Regions from separate parts of the Homo sapiens genome. Here region 1 is linked to region 2. Evidence: promoter capture Hi-C in 16 types of primary human blood cells and fetal thymus (Javierre and others, 2016). All regions are on one chromosome and are shown on one strand. The core of a region is centred on a gene start or on the middle of the fragment in contact, and the rest is flanking DNA. Distances in the headings are between cores, read along the strand shown. Region 1 has its middle 210 kb from the start of LINC01605. Region 2 holds the start of BRF2 (BRF2 general transcription factor IIIB subunit).

What was found. Contacts are between HindIII fragments. The CHiCAGO score rates a contact against its expected background, and 5 or more counts as called.
Region 1: a fragment that was not itself captured here is called in contact with the fragment with the promoter of BRF2 in region 2 in 1 of 17 cell types (total B cells); the score reaches 5.5 in total B cells.

What each region holds. Positions count from the first base shown.
Region 1 is chr8:37,390,271-37,394,562 of GRCh38, forward strand. No RefSeq gene overlaps it. Among named protein-coding and RNA genes, the nearest start is that of LINC01605, 210 kb to the right of the region's middle. RefSeq lists an enhancer at 1,806-3,394. The HindIII fragment of the contact is 7,434 bases long and covers 1-4,292 here.
Region 2 is chr8:37,848,399-37,852,065 of GRCh38, forward strand. BRF2 (BRF2 general transcription factor IIIB subunit) reads right to left here and starts at 1,463. Exons shown (of 4, transcript NM_018310.4): 1 at 1,232-1,463; 2 at 198-257. The coding sequence starts at 1,385. RefSeq lists enhancers at 1,139-1,278, 1,319-1,668. The HindIII fragment of the contact is 8,285 bases long and covers 1-3,667 here.

The DNA.
Region 1 (4,292 bases), core at 652-3,151, 460 kb before region 2:
AGAGGTCATGTTCACCTTGTGTCGGGCACTTGGGCTAACAGTTACCAATTAAAAGAGACAATACCATAAATTGTGCTAGCTTTTAAACCCCTGCTATGCCTCCCACTCCCCACCCCCTTTGATCTTAAAAACTTATCTAGACCTCTGAGAATGTGGACTCCTTTGAATTTCTTCTTTTGCCACACAGCACACACTGTGTTGGGTGTTTTTTCTGATTCTGCCAAGTGCTTCCCTAATAAGGTTCATCTGCAGACAGCCACCTGGGTCCACCCCAAAGGTGATGGGGTTTTGTTTTTGTTTTTGTTTTGCATTTCCTATCTTGAGAATAGGAAAAAAAAAAAAAAAAGCAACATAGCTGCAGTGTGCCTCTGGGCCAGAAGGGGGAGGCTGAAGGAAGTGGATTCCTGTAGGTCTGCAAAAAAAGTACATTATGGCGGGAGAAGGAGATGGTGAGGCGAGAGGGGTGGTTAGAAATGCAAAGGGGAGAAGAAAGAGGTGGTGAAATCAAAATAATTTTAATAAAATAATAATTGCAGCTATCATTTTAGTGTGCTCAGTGCTTTACATATGTAGCTGCATTTAATCCTCACAACAACTCCAGGAGGTAGGTACTAATATCCCCATTTTTCAGATGAGGAAATCAAAATGACAAAAAGGAAACCCTTCAAACTTCCAATTTGTACACTAATTTTCAGGCAGTTGGATTGCTGGGCTATAACCAAGGCAGTTCATAAGTAAATACTGGCGGCTTGAGTTTTTTTTTGTTGTTGTTTTTTTATTTTTAATGTTCACTATTCCAGGCCCCAGGTCAGTAACCGAATATGTGGGAAGCCTTAAAAATACCAATGAGAGCATTTGAAATAGCACAGCTGAAAACCACTACTTTTCACACTGGGCTCCATTCAGAGTTCAAGGTTGGACATTTCTCTCCCACACAAATTCAACAGAACAAGAAACCACAAGAATTGAGTGTTTTCCAAGTCTGAACTGGGGAATATGAACTTCAGAAAAAGGCATGAAGATAAATTTATTTGAAAGCACTTCTCTGAATACGTTTGCACCTCAGTTTCCTGGCTTCAAGGCCCTTGGATAGCCCTAGATATTTAACATAGACCAAATCACTGATGACATTCAGTAAATATTCAACAATATGCAGATTGTGGTCAATTTCCTGGTGGGGGTCTAACACTTGTTAGAATTTTCCAGATGGGCTGGGTGCGATGGCTCATGCCTGTAATCCCAGCACTTTGGGAGGCCGAGGCAGACAGATCATCTGAGGTCGGGAGTTCGAGACCAGCCTGACAAACATGAAGAAACCCCGTCTCTCCTAAAAATACAAAATTAGCCGGGCATGGTGGTGCATGCCTGTAATTCCAGCTACTCAGAAAGGCTGAAGCAGGAGAATTGCTTGAACCAGGGAGGCAGAGGTTGTGGCGAGCCAAGATTGCACCATTGCACTCCAGCCTGGGCAAAAAGAGTGAAACTTCGTCTCAAAAAAAAAAAGAAAAGAATTTTCCAGATGAATCACTTCTGTTTTATCCAGATTCCATACCATCACCAACTCCATATCTGCCCTCCCAATGAACTCCATGGATATTAGCTGATAGGTTAAACTTTCTTAGAATGTCCCAAACTGTAGTCATTTTTCAGTCTGATATATCTCTACTACCCGATTGCATGTACCCCTCCATCCAAGGTGTGTCCGACAAAGATTCTCATATGGTAAGGATGTATTCAGTGTTGCTGAAAGAAATAAATAAATGAACTTCAGCAAACTGTCTATCTCTGTATTTAGATTTGCTTTCAGCATGAGGATTTGGGATTTTTTTGGAGAGGGGGGATAGGAGTTTTTATCCTTTTTTCCCATTATATTTCAAATGAATTTGTCAAGAGGCTTAGAGTTTTATTTTTCCAACATGAATCACTGATGATCTAACAAATTAATTACCCATCCATCCTGCCTTAGTGGGTGAGGTCATGGGAGAACGGATGGGTTCAGCTGACCTCCCCTGGACTGTAGTGTCGTGGCCCCCATTTAAGAACTTGAGTTCAATGCCAAAATTGCCAGTTTAGGTTAGATTCAGACCTAAATGTATCTTATTATACACAGAGGCACACAAATGCAATATGTCATCTTTAATGGTTCAGAACAAAGCCTAAAAAAAATAGTGTCCTAGCACAGATGAATTTTATAACCTTTGATATATGGGTTTCATTATTAACAATAATTTCTGTAACTGCATCCAAATTCGGGAAGACACCCAATGAATATTAATTTTATTTTTGATTTATTTTCTCCTCCTGGTTGTTCCCTCTAGGGCAGACCTGCCTTCCCAGCGTCCCTTTGGCCCTGTGATCTTACATCCTCCAGAGTGAAATTCTCATAGTTCTGGGGACAGCCTGATTCCAGGAATATTGCACTTGAGGTTTTGCTATTCTGCTGGAAAATAAGGATTTTTTCCCCATTGCATTTTCTTACCTCTTTATATTTTACAAAGATTTCCCCCACACACCCTTTGTCATTATATTTAAACCTAATTGCAAGACAACTCTCCTCACCTAAGTCATCAACAAAGCCCAATTATTTCTAATGCATGCAGAAGGGGGAAAAAGTGCCAAACAATAAAAAGGCATGCAGTAACCTAAGCCTTTTTCACAGTCAGGCTTCAAGTTCACATGTGAATTTATGCCAGTTTTGACATTAGCCGAAAAAATTAACAGTTCTCAAAAATGAAACTCTCACAAAAGGGGTTTTGTGTTTCAAGCAGAATAAATTATAGTGTGATGTTATTAAAACACTTAGTTGTTAAGTTGCCAAGAAAATCCAGTATATTCACACAGACTCGAGGACCTGTCTCCATGCAAAGTAATTAAATTAGATTTATGGGCTGCATTACATCAGTGTTTGATAGTTCATTTTTCCTTTCTTCATATTTTGCCCTGCTTTGTTAGAGCATGTGACAGATGGTAAAAATAGTGTGAAGTTTCTTGGCCCTGTGCTAAATCCCCTTTCGGTAGTATATCTCTCTTCTGTCAGTTCTCCCCAGCGATGATAAATTAACCTCTCTCTTTGTATCCCAAGTGTGGCAGTAAAGCTCTCTTTGACACAGCACTATCACTTTATCTTAATCTGTGCTGTTTCGAGGGGAGAGGGAGATGATGCAATCGCTACCCTGAGTTTAAAGAGAAGATTTATTGTGTCAGAAAAAGAGAGGATGATTAATATAATATGCATCATTATATTTTTCATTTTGTCTCATTTGTCGTCTTCTTCTCTTGGAAGGCAAGGAGTTCGCCAGGGTGGGCCAACCTCTGGACCGCCTTTCACCTGGAGCCGGCTGAACCCGGGGGCTGGTAGGTTGGGGGAGGTCGGTTCCTTCTCTCTACCCCACCCCGCCCACCCCGCCCCTGGGCCACCATGGGAGGGGTGGGGTTTTTCTTTCTGGTGACTGAAGCCAGCTTCCCACCCTTCCCAAAGCGAGGCAGCCACACATGGGGTCAGCTTGGCATGGGACTCCCCTTTGGATGGAAGATATTCGAAAGGTCTCAGGGCACGATTTGAGGTGGGTCAGTCAAAATATGCCCTAAATCTAAATAGAACTTGGGGTCATCCAGCCCGCAAGAGACACTGTTGGCAGGACCAGAAGTAGTGCCATATATAATGTTTCTGCAGGAAGGGACATATTACTATGATTATTTCCCTCATTTATAATAAAGCTATATTCTCCTTAAGCTGCTCCTTGGCTATGAATTTCTTATATCTGGGAACTGACTTTATTCATTCTGCTCAATAAGCATTCATTAGTATCAATACGTAGCAGGCATCGGATGGATATAAAGGTGTCTAGAGGACCTATTCCTGCCCTCAGGAAGCTCACATTTCAACCAGCAGGCAGCCATTGGCCAACTGCGATGAGCATCTCTCCCTCCTGGGTCCTCCCAGCATGGAGGGTGCCGGGCCTGGGTTGGGCCCTGGGTTGGGCCCAGGGTGGGACCCTGAATCCCACTAAAGGAAGTTCCCCAAATTAAGGGTGCATTACAGATAAGATGGGCATAATTAGAAACCTAATGGGAAAGCGTCACTGAGAGCTGAAAGGGATTGTGGTTTATCTGTTTCACGAAGTGAGTAGTCACAAGCCAGTTTCTCTGCTTTCAAAATTGGGATTTTTCAAGAGTTACCGAAAGTGGGATACCTTATAGAATCCCAAACAACTGGAGTCTTTTCACCCAGTTTTCCTCACAGACTCTGAAAGAAGCAAATGGCAGGTGGCCTGTCCTAGCCATTCTCACTC
Region 2 (3,667 bases), core at 213-2,712:
ACCATGCCCAGCTAATTTTTGTATTTTTAGTAGAGACGGGGTTTCGCTATGTTTGCCAGGCTGGTCTTGAACTCCTGACCTCAGGTGATCCACCTGCCTAGGCCTCCCAAAGTGCTGGGATTACAGGCGTGAGCCACAGCACCTGGCCTAGGATAGTTTTCTTTAAAGCCACTGTGTTGTAAAAGGTCAATTCTCACCTCGTTGCTGGCTGCGACTAACTTGTTCGTTTTCCCCTGTGCTTCGGGAATATGTTACCTCTGTAAGATAATAAACAACAAATAGTGTGCTTAGCCTTTATTCATCAGACCCCTGCCCTCCCACCACACAAAACCAGGACGCAAAATTCAAATCATTGAGCATCTGCTGCTGCACAGTTAAAGGCCCCATCTGGTTTTCTATGTCTACAAGAGGTTCCGAATACACAGAGACTGGGAAAGGTTAGGACTGCATTAAAGCAGCTCCAAGTGTTCCAAATTTCCAGTCATCCTTCCAGTACATTCCATACAGGCAATTTTCCTAGCAGCAGATTTTGTTGTTGTTTGTTTAAGGAGTTTCCCTCTATAGTCCAGGCTGGAGCACAGTGGTGCGATCACAGCTCACGGCAGCCTTCAACTTCCAGGCTCAAGCAATCCTCCTACCTCAGATTCCTGGGTAGCTGGGATTACAGGTGTATGCCACCATACCTGGCTAATTAAAAAAAAATTTTTTTAGGCACTTGTCTCGTTACGTTACCAAGGCTGGTCTCGAGATCCTGGGCTCAAGCAATCCTCTCGGCTCTGCCTCCCAAAGCACTGGGATTACAGGCGTAAGCCACCCCACCCAGACAATGGCTGCAGATTTTGAGGGCTGCACTGGTCAGAAACTTGGAAAGCAAAGAAAAGTGATGTTTTGCCAGTTTGTGCTTAAAACTATTTCAGGGTAATAATACCTGCTATAATCGTATCGGCAATCCTTCCACAATGACCAGACATGGCAAGATGAGTGGAACTTTTGTTTCTGTCTCACTTATTCAATATTTATTACACGCACCATCTATGCCCGATACTAAGTGCTGGGAAAACACAGATGAATGGCAGCCCCCATCTCCTTCAGCTCCCTCGCTCACTTTAGGTCATTTTCTCTCAAATTAAGTGTGTGCGTTACAGTTAGGAGTATGGGGGGAGCGGGGAGGCAAAAGGAATCTGATGTTAATCCCTCCACCGCCCCAGGCTGTCCCCAGGGCCACAAGTACCTCGGAGATTGCCCTCGTCGCTGAAGGTAGTGGTAAGGACCCCCTCGGTGACCACGCAGCCGCAGTCGGAGCACACCAGCTGGCTCTGCGAATAGTGCGAGTCTTCCACCAGCTCCGTGGAGCCGCAGTCCGGGCAGCGGCCTCTGCCTGGCATCTCACAACCGGCCCCAAAGCCGCGGAAGCCTTCAGAGACTCCTGGGTCTGCAACAGCAACCGTGAGGCAGCAAGAAGTAGGAGGGGACACTTCAAAGGGTTGCACCCCCGTCTTCCGGCCAGCGCGACGGAGGCATAGGCGGTTCCCTCCGCTGGGAGGCTGCGCGCCACTTCCGGTCTGTGCCTCCGCGGGCTCGGGTAGAAACGTGAGCTAGGAGAGGAGGTTCCTGGGCTGAACTGTAGCTGTCTGGTTTCCCTGCACTCTGTAGTTAGTTTTTGGGACCTAGACTGGGGTTGAATTTGGGAAAGTTTTTGCCTACATGGACACGTATAACAGACAGAAGATTGTTGTCACCCCTGAACAACCCTCCTTTTAAAGTCCTAAGGGAATCGCAGGTTGGTAATGAATGTTTAATTGGCCATAGAAGAAAGTATATTTTTTAAAGGGAGAGTAGTGGAGAGAGAGCGGGAGCAGGAAACTGTGTTCTGCTTTCCAGAGCTGCTTCCTAAAGCAGATTCCTTCCTCTCTTTACCTCCTGTTTTTCTCAACTGTAAAATGAGGAAGTTGAAAAAAAAATCCAGAGATGCAAACCCAAACGCTTTTGGAGGCCAGGCAGGAATGTCTAAAGGAGTTTGGAGTGAAAGAATATGGAGTGATGGAGACCTGGAGCGGCGCAAGCACGCAGATTCAGATGTTTTTTAAAAAACCTTGAGCTATCTGGGCGTGGTGGCTCACGCCTGTAATCCCAGCACTTTGGAAGGCCGAGGCAGGTGGATCACCTGAGCTCGGGAGTTTGAGACCAGCCTGGGCAACATGGTGAAATCCCGTCTCTACTAAAAATACACAAAAATTAGCTGGGCGTGGTGGTGCACGTCTCTAATCCCAGCTACTCAGGAGGCTGAGGCAGGAGAATCGCTTGAACCCAGGAGGCGCAGGAGGCGCAGTGAGCCAAGATCGCGCCACTGCACTCCAGCCTGGGTGGCAGAGCGAGACTCCATCTCAAACAAAATAAAACATACCTTTAAGAAGTGTCACTCCCTTCTTTTCCACACCCAGTTTTTACACGTGATATCCAAACCTAAAGACACCATCCCTTCCCTAAGAGACTGCTTTCTCAGAGTGTGAGAATCACTACTCCTTTTCAGAGACATCCCGTCCATTCCCATGGGGATCGCTCACATTGGAGGGCCAAGAGACACAATAATACCCAACGGTCCTTTCTCTTCAATTTGAATTACTTTAGTATCATAACAGAAGGGGGCTTCAGCACATTAATCGTGGGTGGGATCCGGCAGTCCAAGCCCCCCCGCCTTTTCTAGACCTCCCCACTAGCGTGAGATACAGGATGAGAGCTTATTTCTGGCTGTCTGACAGTTAAATATTAAGATACATTTGCACATGCGCACCCGCACACACACACCACTCAGAGACATCCATTAGTTTTAGTGTGGTTGACATTCTTATTTGGATGAAGAAAGTGTCCCTGAAAGCGACATAACTTGCACTGGGAACAGTTCCTTGCATGATCACACAGCAGAGCATCAGACTCCCCTCATCCCCAGTTGTGTGCAGATCTTGAACCTACCTTCACTTTTTTTTTAAGCGGGACTTTACAGAGCCCATCTACCTAGGACAGAAGCCTTGAAATCCTGCCTGACCCAACCTGATTGATTGTAAAGTGGAAAAGCAGTTTTATGATCCTGCAGCCAGCCACGGAAGGAGAAAGCTGGTTGTCTTTCCCAGTCACACATGATGTACTTACTGGGAGCCTAGGAGAGCCTGGTCCTCGGGCACACACAGGCTGGGAGGGGGCAGGGTCCAGGCCAGAAGATGGCGCCCTCTACTAAGATGTGTAAGTTTGGGGTTCTCCACTTTCTCAGGAAGAAGTCCATTTATTTGGGAAATGTATTTGCCTTGCTCCAGGAAATCTGGACAGACGTGGAAATCATCTTGGTGCCCTCTCCACTGCTCCCAGTTCTTCTAAGAGTTATCATTCCTGGTAGTGATTATCTTATTTTTTAATTTTATTTATTTATTTATTTTGAGAGGAGTCTCACTCTGTCGCCCAGGCTGAAGTGCAGTGGCACAGTCTCAGCTCACTGCAGCCTCCACTTCCCGGGTTCAAGCAATTCTTCTGCCTCAGCCTCCCAAGTAGCTAGGACCACACGCGCCCACCACCATGCCTGGCTAGTTTTTGTATTTTTAGTAGAGATGGGATTTCACCGTGTTGGCCAGGCTGGTCTCAAACTTCTGACCTCAGGTGATCTGCCCACCTCGGCCTC